4 separate regions of the Homo sapiens genome follow, and regions 2, 3 and 4 are each linked to region 1. Evidence: promoter capture Hi-C in 16 types of primary human blood cells and fetal thymus (Javierre and others, 2016). All regions are on one chromosome and are shown on one strand. Each heading gives the region's core, a stretch centred on a gene start or on the middle of the fragment in contact. The rest is flanking DNA. Distances are from core to core; before and after follow the strand shown.

Region 1 (2,709 bases), core at 3-2,502:
CTGTGTCCTCAAAGAAGCACTGGGACCCTAAAATAAACCTCTGGAGAGCCAGTTGCCCAACTCTTCCAGAAGAGAGACTAGACACGCAGCTGGGCATGCGGCCAGAGCCCAAGAAAAGCCTGGTTTGCCAGGGGCAGATTACAGTCAACGGGAGCAGTAAGTGCCTCTGCCCTCTCCCTCACGGGTCCTTCTCTTTTCTAGAGGGGAGTCCAGCACGTGCCAGCCCCAGGAGGTCTCACTCCCTTGCCAGCCTCCCGACTCAATTCCCAGGACTGGGGCACTTGGCTTCCCAGAGTTGGTGGCTGCCAAAGTGACTCCGTGCAGCGGGAAGATCCGTGACTCAGCGCCCGTGATGTCAGTCCCTTCATAGTCAGGGCACTGTCATCCACACATGCACCCGCGGGGGTGGGGGGAGGACCAGGCGAGGTGGACCCCCAATGCAGAGGGAGAAGAGGGGCGCTGGTACAAAGGACTCCCCAGGCGGGTACATCACCCCGCTGGGGCGCGCCCTCTCGGGCAGTCTCCCCTTAGAGTAACCTGGGACGCGGTTGTGTAAAGGCTCCTGGGGGCACTGGGAAGGAAGCTCGAGAGTCAGGTTTGCAAGGACACAGTCCTGTACACAGACCGCAGGGTTCCCGCACAGCTTCACCGGGCATTCCGGGGAGCGCTCCGGACCAAGGGAGCAAGCGCAGCAGGGGGCGCAAGAGCCACTACCCGCGACCACACAGCTAGGTACCCGCGGGGCCTCAAGGCAGCCACAGAAAAGGGGATCCGTCGCACCTCCTTTCCTCCCTCCAGCCTCCCACAGACTGCGGTGACCAAGGCGGTTTCCCCCAGCCGCTAGCTGCCCCAGCCCTCCAGGTGCGCCCGAAGCCCTTACCCTGCGCAGGGCAGCGCCTTGGGGCCAGCGCCGCTCCCGGCGCGGCCAGCAGGGCAGCCAGCAGCGCGCAGCCGACGGCCAGCATGCTTCCTCCTCGGCTACCACTCCATGGTCCCGCAGAGGCGGACAGGCTAATGGGAACCGGGCGGCAGGGGTGGCAGGGGCGGGGCGGGGCGGTGGGCGGGCAGGCGGGCTCAGGCCCCGGGGGCAGCCCCCATCCGCAGGAGCCCGGCTCTCTACACACACTGCGAGTCCCTCGGCCCCGCGCCGCGCTCGGCTCCTCTCCCTCTGGCCCGGCTCAGTGTCAGTGCGACTTCCCACTCGCACATGACTCAGAGCGGCGGACGGTCCTGGCAACGCAGGAAAACATTTGAGGAACTCGCGCTGGAGCGTCTCTGGGCCGTCCCAGGGTGCGGTTACGAAAGCCGGAGCGGATGGCGCAACAGCCCCGCGCACCGGCCGACCGAGGGGGTGGCTTCCTGCCACAGCGCCGCACCTGAGCGGGGAGAACAGGGGACCGCCAGCCCCACCAGAGCCCTTCCTCCCGGTTCTGTTGATGAGAAAAGGGCGTATCAGCCACCAGTGGGCAGTGGCCTAGTTTTGATTTTTGGTTTCGTGAACGGGATTACGCTGTGAAAGGCACACCTGGAGAGCCCTCGAGGAGGCGATGTTCCTCTTACCCTTAGGGTAAAACAGTGCTTGGTAGCCCGGTTGCCCACTGGAATCAGCCAGGAGCCCTAAAACCCACCAATGTCTGGGTCGGGTCTCCAGAGATTCTGATTTCATCGGTCTGGGGTGAGGCTTGGGCATCGGAAGACTCACCACCGTAAAGGCACAGTCTTTCTGCCCAGCTGCTCCTCGCAGGCTGCAGCAGAGGCAAGGAAACGGTTTGGACTTTGCAGTCAGATAGACCTGGGTCCCCATTTAGACCTACCATCTACTGTGTCTGTGACTTCGGTTCAGAATCTGAGTCTCCATTTCCTCATCTGTCAGAGATAAGAAAGCCTATGCTGCCCAGGGTTATTAGGAAGGTTCTGTGGATGGCACCTAAACACCTGACACACGGTCTGGGCCACACGTGCTCAGTAGACATCAGAACGTTCATGGCTGCCCTCCTGACTTGACAGACAGACACTAACACCAGGGGCAGTGGCTCACGCCTGTAACCCCAACACTTTGGGAGAGCCGGGTGGGTGGATTGCTTCAGTCCAGGAATTCTAGACCAGCCTGTGTAACAAAGTGAGACCCCCATTTCTATAAAAAAATTTAAAAATTAGCTGGGTGTGGTGGTACACACCTATAGTCCCAGCTACTAGGGAAGCTGAGGTGGGAAAATTGCTTGAGTCCGGGAGATCCAGGGTACAGTGAGCCGTGATTGGGGGCTGCTACTCCAGCCTGGATGACAGTGAGACCCTGTCTGGAAAGAAAAAAAAAAAAAGAAAAGAAAGAAAGAAAAGGAAGGGAGGAGGGAGGGAGGGAGGGAAGGAGGGATAGAGGGGAAGGAAGGAAAGGAAGGAGAGAAAAAAAGAAAGAAACAAGCACCTGGCTTTTGAGCAACCACAAGGACCTTGAAGGGGACCATCTGTCCGTCCCTTGGAGGGGAACTCTCTCAAGGACCCCCACAGAGCCTAAAGCTGATAGGATGGCCTCATAGCTGAATCTGGAGGGAAAGAAAAATGCTGAAATAAAGTTTAGGCTGAGAAGCTTCTAGACCAGCAACTGCTCATTAGAATGTGTTTTTCTACCTTTGGTTTCAGGCCAATCCTAACCCAGATCAAAGATCCTGGGACAGCTGGAACAGGCATGGCCTAATGGAACTCCCAAGTGGA
Region 2 (2,700 bases), core at 29-2,528, 380 kb before region 1:
CAGGGCCCTCTAGTGTGGGGGACCCAGAGCCAGAGCTCCAGGTGTCTGGATCCAGGGCAGTACCTGTGGGCATTGAACACACAGCAGCACAGACCCCGAATTGCAAATAGTGCCCCCAGTCACCAAACTGGCCCTCTCCATAGCCATATCTTTGTTTGCTTCTGCGCATCTCTAGCAGACACGCAGTTCTAAGCTCCTGGTTCATCAGGAACTTGCATCCTGATCTCCGCTGTACCCCACGGGTCTTGGCATTGTACCTGGCACGCTGAGGCCAGATCCGCAGTGACCTCTCACCAGCAGCAGTCGCTGTGGTGATGGTGGCTGCCGCATGCCCTGGCCCTGGCCCTGGCCCTGGCCCTGGTCCCTCCCTCCCAAATGGAGGGAATGGTGGAGCAGGTTTCCTTTCTCAACCGTGGGGAGGGCCACCACTTCCCACAGGGAGCCTAGGCCTCTGCCCTCAGTGGGGGAGCGGAGTGGGCCACTGACTAACGCGGCTTTCAGTGCCTACGATAGGAATTCACATGGAGAGGTGGCCTTGAAATAAGTGCCTTGTTTAATCTTCATGCCCTGGAAGTATTTTTCACAAGGTGGCTTAGTTAGAGGGGCTGTGGATCTGGTAATGAGGCTGGCCTTGGAGGGGGAGACTTGTGAGAGGAGCTCAGCTATGAACACTTCTAGCAGGGCTGTATTCATAAAATCCTGGGGGCTCCCAGGGGATTTGAAGCTCTACACAGAAAATTACAGGGCAGGAAAGGACCTGGGCAATTATTTTTCCTCCAAGAATGGCCATGCTTAAAACATCACCATTAGGCGCCACAAGTGGCTTTCTCCATGACAGCTCTTTTAAAAAATACTTTATTGGGTTTTTTTAAATTACAAAAGCAATATAGGCTTCTTTTAACACAGAGGTGTGTTCTCATTATCAAAAGGAAAAAAATCAATAGGTTCCCTGATTCCCATCTCCCTGCGTCCCCAGTAGTACCAGTGTTAACAATTTAGTGTTTAGCCAGAGGTGATTAATGCACCTTTTGTGTGTGCTTATACAAAAATGTACCAACATGCATACACATATATGGGCATTTTTGTTTTTATGTGTTGGTGTTTGCTTTTTTAAAAAAGAGGAATCACACTATACCCATTATGCTGTAAGTTTCTCTTTTTACTTAGCAATATATCATGAACATTTTCTAAGTCAATACATATAGATCCACTTCATTTTTAAAAACAGCTACATAATGTTCCCCAGTATGAGTACCATAATATATTCAGCTGTTTCCCTATTGATGTGTATTCAGGTTGTTTCCAGGGTTTTTTAAAAAATTATAATAAGCAGTTCTTTTAAAATATTCTTTGATTTCTTTTTCTATCTTGTGCATATGTTACAAAAGACTCTTTTGCCTTAGGAGGATTATAAAAATGGTGAACAATTAAAATATTTCTTTACAGTCACATTGATATAGTTTTGACACCTTAAACCCTTTATGTATTCATTTGGGTGGCCCTGGGCGCTGTGCCTGGCACTGTGGAGGACAGTGACCAAGGAGATGTCTGTCCTCAAGGACCCCTGCTTTAGTGAGGGTGCTGACAAGCAGGTGGACAGGAATGCGGCTCAGATGGACGATCAAGAAGGAGGTTTCGGCCAGAATGGAAACTTAATAGATGAGAGTGTGGCCTCTTGGTTTAAATCCTGTCTCCACCACTTAGTTGCTATGAGGTCTGGGGGATGTTCACTTTTCTTATGGGGCTATTGTGAGACTCAAAGAGTTGATGTAAAGAAAAGTGCTTAGGAGGCCAGGTGTGGTGGCTCATGCCTGTAATCCCAGCACTTTGGAAGGCCGAGGATGGCTGATCATATGAGGCTAGGAGTTTGAGACCAGCCTGGCCAACATCGCAAAACCCCACCTCTACTAAAAATACAAAAATTAGCCGGGTGTGGTGGTGCACAGCTACTCGTGGTAGCTGGGTACTAATCCCAGCTACTCGGGAGGCTGAGGCAGGATAATTGCTTGAACCCAGGAGGCAGAGGTTGTAGTGAGCCATAATCGTGCCACTGTACTCTAGCCTGGAAGACAGAGTGAGACTCTTGTCTCAAAAAAAAAAAAAAAAAAAAAAAAAAAGAAAAAGAAAAGTGCTTAGGCCCCAGCCAACAAGTTGGACTCACCAAATGGCTTGTTGCTGTTTGAAGTGCTGCCCCCGCCACTGGGAGATCAGGAAAAGCTCCCCCTGAAGGGGTGACAGTGCAGCTGGCCCTTGGGAAGGAGGTGAAGGGCCTTTTAGTCAGTTGGGGAAAAAACAAACACTCCCTGCCCACCACCACCACCTGGTCCTGACCTCAGTTCTTCAGCTCCCTAGGCTGTTCAAAGATCCAAAAACCTATTTATTTTTAGTTGCTAAAAATATCCCCTAAGCCAGGGTTAAAGAATTTCTCCCTTAGTGGTAAACAGGTGACTTAGAACCAATCAGGGCCCAGCAGCCCCAGTGATGATGCTGTTCCTCCCCTACCCCCAAACATTCAGCAGGATCCTTTCATGTGTCAAAAGGAAAGAAACTTATCAGAAACTTCCTGTTGAGAAAACGATACCTCTTACCCCAGACTTAGCAGATGCACAGAAACCTTTGACTCCTGGATCTGCCAAGGCACACAAAGAACCAGAAACACCTATTGGCCTGGCCTGGGATAGGCAAACACTGGGGCTCAGC
Region 3 (2,700 bases), core at 76-2,575, 480 kb before region 1:
GTGGTATAATCTCGGCTTACTGCAATCTCCACCTCCTGGGTTCAAGCCATTCTCCTGCCTCAACCACCCCAGTAGCTGGGATTAAAGGTGCATGTCACCACGCCTGGCTAATTTTTGTATTTTCAGTAGAGACGAGGTTTTACCATGTTGATCAGGCTGGTCTCTACCTCCTGACCTCAAATGATCCGCCCACCTTGGCCTCCCAAAGTGCTGGGATTGGAGGCGTGAACCACTGCGCCTGGCCAGATTTGCATTTTCAAAAGACTTTTCTGTTGCCCTGTGGAAGATGGATTTGAGGGCTGGAGGGGTGGGAGTGGGACCAGTTAGGAAGGTGTTGGGTTAAGTCTGAACAGGGAGGTGGAGAGAGAAGGAAAGCGATGCTGAGAGCTACCTTCAAGGCTGGGTCCACAGGATTGGGTGCCAAGGACGGCTCCCATCTTCTGGGGGATGCTGGGGATCTGCCTGAGCTGGGGAGACGCTGGACCAGGAGATGATTTTGGAGGCACAGCCGAATCTATTTGGCACATAAGGGTGAACTCCTCAAGGATGGACACACATATTATTCATCTCTAATTCTCTGGTTGGGCACAGCAGAAGCCCAAGAAGTGTTTGTGGAATAAATGACTGGAAAGCCACTCTTGGGCTTGCTGGTCTGTCTTGTTGGCCAGCATGTAGTGCTGCTCCTCAGATGACAAAGTGAAGTGTCTATTATGTTGTTTCTAACTTGGTGGGTTATCTGCCCAAATAGACGCTCTGAAGGTGACCCCAGATGATAGCAGAGAGAGGCACATGTGGGCAGCAAGTGGGTATGTGTGGGCATGTGGGAGGGGGGCACTGGGAGTTGGGGGAGCATTGTCCTTAGCATCTCATCACCGTTCATTCACATTTACTGCTCAGCTGGGAGCATGCTCTGGCTGCAGGGCGGTGCTTTTAGCCCAGAGGCTCAGAGCACTTTCCTATCACTAACATGGAACATTCCCAGAATTCCCCAGAGGCCTGGGGTTCCAGACAGTACAACATACAGAAGGCTGAGGCTCCAGTCACACTGCTGAGGTGTCTGAGCATAACAGTGCATTCGTCTGTCCAAGCATGCACCATTTGTTCATTCACTCGTCATGTGCCAGGCACTGTGCTGGGCTTGGGGAATCCAAGGGCAACAAGACAGGCCTGTCCCAGCCTCCTTGAGCTCACATGCTTTATGCACATCCAGATACAGGGGTGCCACTGTCACTAGAGCCACCTCTGGAGTCAGCTAGCAAGATCTGGAGCACATTATCCTCACTTCCATCTCAGCTGGTTGAGCTGCAGTACTTGAGAGTCTGTGGATGATGATGTTATTGGGAGTTTTATCTCTAACCACATGTACCTACTTCCTGGAAGTTCAGAGCAATGATCCTTAAAATGGCCAGAAACTAAAACTGAAAACCACCCAACTGCCTAAGAAGAGTGAATGGCTAAGCAAATTCTAGACATATGATGGGGGAGGAGCATGACATTATCTAATAAAAACGTGGGGTTATGTTGATATGTTAATGAGATGGGATTTACTGTCACTATGAGACTGTCTTTAATGAAACAAGAACATAAAATATCAGGTACACACTAATTACAGCACAACTGCTCTAAAACCTATATACACACATTGTCATCTCAATTGTATAAGGAAAACACAATGCATAGCAAAAGACTGAAATATGCCACATCTTAACAATACCTACTTTGGTAGAGGAATTTTACGTGACCTTTCTGCTTCTTTATTGTTTTCTATTTTTTCCCAAACTTTTAATAATCAGCAAGCATTTACCGTGAAAATTCAGAAAAGTAAATACATTAAGACTCTCCTATGTTTACACATTGGCATAGGTCAGAAAAGTATTTCCAGGGATGTTAGCTGGGCGTGGTGGTGCATGCCTGTAATCCCAGCTACTTGGGAGGCTGAGGTGGGAGAATCGCTTGAACCCAGGAGGCAGAGGTTGCAGTGAGCCGAGATCGTGCCATTGTGCTCCAGCCTGGGCGACAGAGCAAGAGTCCGTCTCAAAAAAAAAAAAAAAAAAAAAGAAGCATTTCCAGGGATGTCAGAAGAGCTTGGTGAGCGCTAGATTCAGTTGTTTGTATTTGTAATGAACCACACACTGATCATTGAGAGCTGAACTAGGTAGACACTAAGTGCGCCTTTGTTCTGAAGTGCTGGGATTCAACTTAATTCCATACAAGTTGAACAGCTTACAATCCTGTCAGGGAGGCAGACTTATTTATTTACTCAACCGTTTATTCAACGAGTGTTTATGGAGTTCCTCCTTTGTTCCTGGCATTGTCCCAGATGCTGGAGAACATAAACACATAATCACAATGTGATGTGAGAAGGGCCTCAGCAGAGGTCCCGACAGAGTATTAGGGGAATACAGCATGGCTAACCCTGTTTGAGGATGTTGGGGATCAGCGAAGGCCTCCTAAAGCAGGATCATTTGAACAAGGCCTTGAGGGGTGAATAAGAGTTCTCTAGGCAACAAATAGAGGGAAATGGAGCCTAAGCTACTTTGGGAATTATTTTTAGAGATGCCTACATGTGCTATGAGGGAAGATAGAATATGTGGATTGTTTATAGACTGTTGTCCTCATTCCAGCCAGGAGACCAGAATGAGGAGTTGAGTTCAAAGGTCTGAACTCACAAAATTAGAATAACTCATTTGTGTCCTGGCT
Region 4 (2,891 bases), core at 164-2,663, 360 kb before region 1:
GACATTTCTTTCAGCGTTTTGGCCAACAGACACACGGTCAAACTGAGAGGGCATTCTGCTGCCGCAGAACAAGGGTTCAGGCTCCAGGATGCAGGTTCAGGTTCTGAGAGCCAGTGCAGTGTTGGAAGACCTTTCTCACACACAGAGCCCCAGGGACACACCATGCTCACCTATTCAGAACCTCGCCATTACTCAGCAGCTGACATTGCAACATCTGCTCTGAGTGGGACCACACTGCACAGGGCTTCATGAGCCTTCTCTGGTAAGCAGACACTCTTCCCCCAATGGAGAAAGCATGTGCTTGGGTTCCGACCCCAAACTCTTCATGGTACTGTTAGCTGAGCAACATTGTGCTGGTCGCTTCACCTCTCTGGACCTCAATTTTCTTATCTGAAAGCTGGACACAGGATTTATTGTTAGAGTCAAACAAGGTGTATATATGCACTATGTACTGCAATCCAATGATGGTGAAAGTTAATAATAATAGTGCAGATCCCTTGATAACTCTTGGGAATTTTGTGCTGCCTTCTTTTAATTAGAACAGCCCAACTTGTACCATACATGGGCCTATACTCTTCCTGTTTTCCTTTCTAAATGATGGAAGCCATGTTGTCTATTAACATAGTAATTGAATTTGCGTAGCCCTTTAAGCTATTTGAAGTCTTTCACTTCCTCAGATGCTCTCTGGCATGTATTTCAGATGGCTGAACATGCAACAAAGTACCTGCAAGTGAGTTTCGTAGTTTATTGAACCTATCACAAGAAGGGGTGACTATTTTTCACTGGAAAATAAGCTTGTTTTAAAGAATGTAGTTTGCAAAGTACTTAGATGATGCACCTTATTTGATATTGCATGGCCTTCCATAGCTTCCAAGCTGAGGCTGGGTTAGTTTGGTCCCTGGTGGGCCACTGGGTCTCTCTCTCTCTCTCTGCAGACATGGGTCACAAGCCCCCGCTAAGACCAAGGCACAGAGGAACAATGAGCAAATCGGAAATTCTCTGAAAGTTCCCTTCTCTTGCGAAAAGGCCATTTGACCAAAGACTTAGGTATAACATGAGGTGTATTAAAGCATGGTGGATGTTATTGTTGCACCCCTGTGCTAGTTCTGTGTAAAATCCATATGTCATCCCAGCTTGCCCTCACAATAGATCTATGAGAGAGGTACCTTGCCTGAGGGAAGGAGAGCCCGGGTCCTGGAGGGGCATTTGGGTGAAGCAACATGTCATCCACTACATGGATGTGTTTGAATTGGACATGAAGGCTCATGGGAGAGTTGAGGAAACTGATAGAAAGTAACTGGCCCGAGGTCACAGAGCTATTAATAATAAGCGTGGAGCCAAAATCTGAACTGGTTTCTGACTCTGAACTTCCATGTGTGTGTCACCAACCCAGGCTGAATCCTGCACATACGAGGAAATCTTGGCCTCTACTCTACTGGCAACTTTCCCAATCTCAGAGTCTTAAGGCCACTGAGACTAACATGTGAATCCCAGTCTTGCTGTTTTCTCTGCCTCTGCTGCCTATGGTCTTGACCATGTTATCATACTAGCCTCCTGGGCTGCCTTCATGTCCAATTCAAACACATCCATGTAGTGGATGACATGTTGCTTCATGTCAACATGAAGGGGACAGATGCCCCCTCCAGGACCCGGGCTCTCCTTCCCTTAGCTGGGGTTGTGACTGAGTCCCTCTCTTCAGGTCAAACCCCTTGCCTGGGGGCAGCAAGCTCCCGAGGGGATTTGTCAGTGTGGGAGTTCAAAGGCCTAACCCCGTTTGCTTCTAGTAGGACACTCAGCCAGGCTCCAGGGTCCCTGAGGGATCGCCTAAGGCCTCTGTTACCACTGCATCCGGGAACTTCCTCTATACCCCAGAGGTATTGATCCTGAGAGCAGCCCCAGTAAAACTCCCACCCCCAAATCTCAGCATCTCACAGACTGTTTCCCAGGAATCTGCCCCGTTAATATATTGTTTCCTAAACAGGCAAAGCACTTCTCTTACCAAGACTAAGCACTATTTTTAGAATCAAGCTTAAATGATCATTCTGTTTCCCAATGTCAAATAATAAGTAAGATTGGCAGAGGCCTTCAGCCAGGACTTATTCAGCCAGAGACTGGACAGAAGCTGGAAGCAGGGGAAGCTTTGGGGAACTGAAGCGTCAGACCAGGGTAGTGTGGACAGGATGCCTTGATCTCTCTCAGCCTGATCTAATGATGATTCTATCACCTTAGGCATCAGAGAGGGTAAGTGACTTGCCCAGGGTCACACAGCAGCATGACAGGTTCTAGAAAAATCCACAGCTGCTGATGCCCAGAGCCTGTTCACATTCCAGGTAGCTTTCATCAGCCTGGACTTATCTCTAGTTGTATACACACACTTCTGAAGTTGCTATGGAAATCTCTCTACAGCAAGATGTATTTTAAAAGACAGTTCTCATATCTTGGGTTGGTTTTTATGTGACAACAAAGGTTTTTCATATTTCCTCCTCCCAAGGAGAGAAAGTGGGATCATAATTACGCAGAACAGCCGTGCCATGGGGAGGGCAGCGCCTGGTTGCTGGGAGGGCAGTGACAACAGTGGGCTTGTTTTCCTTGGCCCCCAGAGAGGCATTACATCATGGGTTCCGAGGCCTGACAGTTGTGGCACTCTGCATTCTCTGGGATTCTCCTGGCTGCCTGCCCACCTCCCTCAGGGAGGAACCTCCTGATTTTACACTGTCAAGTGCCAAGCAGCTTTACTGGTGGAGAGACCATCTGAGGCCCCGGGTCCTCACTGCGGCAGCAGGTTGGAGAGCCAGCCTTCCTAGCGTGCCTTGAGCAGTGCAGTGGCCTGCCAGCTCACCTTTGTATGTTTATCTCCTTGGGAGGAGCAACAAGGCCTCCCATAACATTGA

What was found. Contacts are between HindIII fragments. The CHiCAGO score rates a contact against its expected background, and 5 or more counts as called.
Region 2: a fragment that was not itself captured here is called in contact with the fragment with the promoter of IL6R in region 1 in 1 of 17 cell types (non-activated CD4 T cells); the score reaches 5.1 in non-activated CD4 T cells.
Region 3: a fragment that was not itself captured here is called in contact with the fragment with the promoter of IL6R in region 1 in 1 of 17 cell types (naive CD4 T cells); the score reaches 5.0 in naive CD4 T cells.
Region 4: a fragment that was not itself captured here is called in contact with the fragment with the promoter of IL6R in region 1 in 1 of 17 cell types (naive CD4 T cells); the score reaches 6.3 in naive CD4 T cells.

What each region holds. Positions count from the first base shown.
Region 1 is chr1:154,403,886-154,406,594 of GRCh38, reverse strand. It overlaps IL6R (interleukin 6 receptor), which reads right to left and starts at 1,252. Exons shown (of 10, transcript NM_000565.4): 1 at 881-1,252. The coding sequence starts at 965. IL6R-AS1 (IL6R antisense RNA 1) reads left to right here and starts at 31. Exons shown (of 2, transcript NR_147855.1): 1 at 31-156; 2 at 2,638-2,709. RefSeq lists an enhancer at 122-728 and silencers at 968-1,117, 1,318-1,447. The HindIII fragment of the contact is 4,036 bases long and covers 1-2,586 here.
Region 2 is chr1:154,784,990-154,787,689 of GRCh38, reverse strand. All of the region lies in intron 2 of KCNN3 (potassium calcium-activated channel subfamily N member 3), which reads left to right. Among named protein-coding and RNA genes, the nearest start is that of KCNN3, 84 kb to the left of the region's middle. The HindIII fragment of the contact is 3,964 bases long and covers 1-2,700 here.
Region 3 is chr1:154,885,103-154,887,802 of GRCh38, reverse strand. No RefSeq gene overlaps it. Among named protein-coding and RNA genes, the nearest start is that of KCNN3, 16 kb to the right of the region's middle. The HindIII fragment of the contact is 9,275 bases long and covers 1-2,700 here.
Region 4 is chr1:154,767,469-154,770,359 of GRCh38, reverse strand. All of the region lies in intron 3 of KCNN3 (potassium calcium-activated channel subfamily N member 3), which reads left to right. Among named protein-coding and RNA genes, the nearest start is that of KCNN3, 100 kb to the left of the region's middle. The HindIII fragment of the contact is 1,234 bases long and covers 797-2,030 here.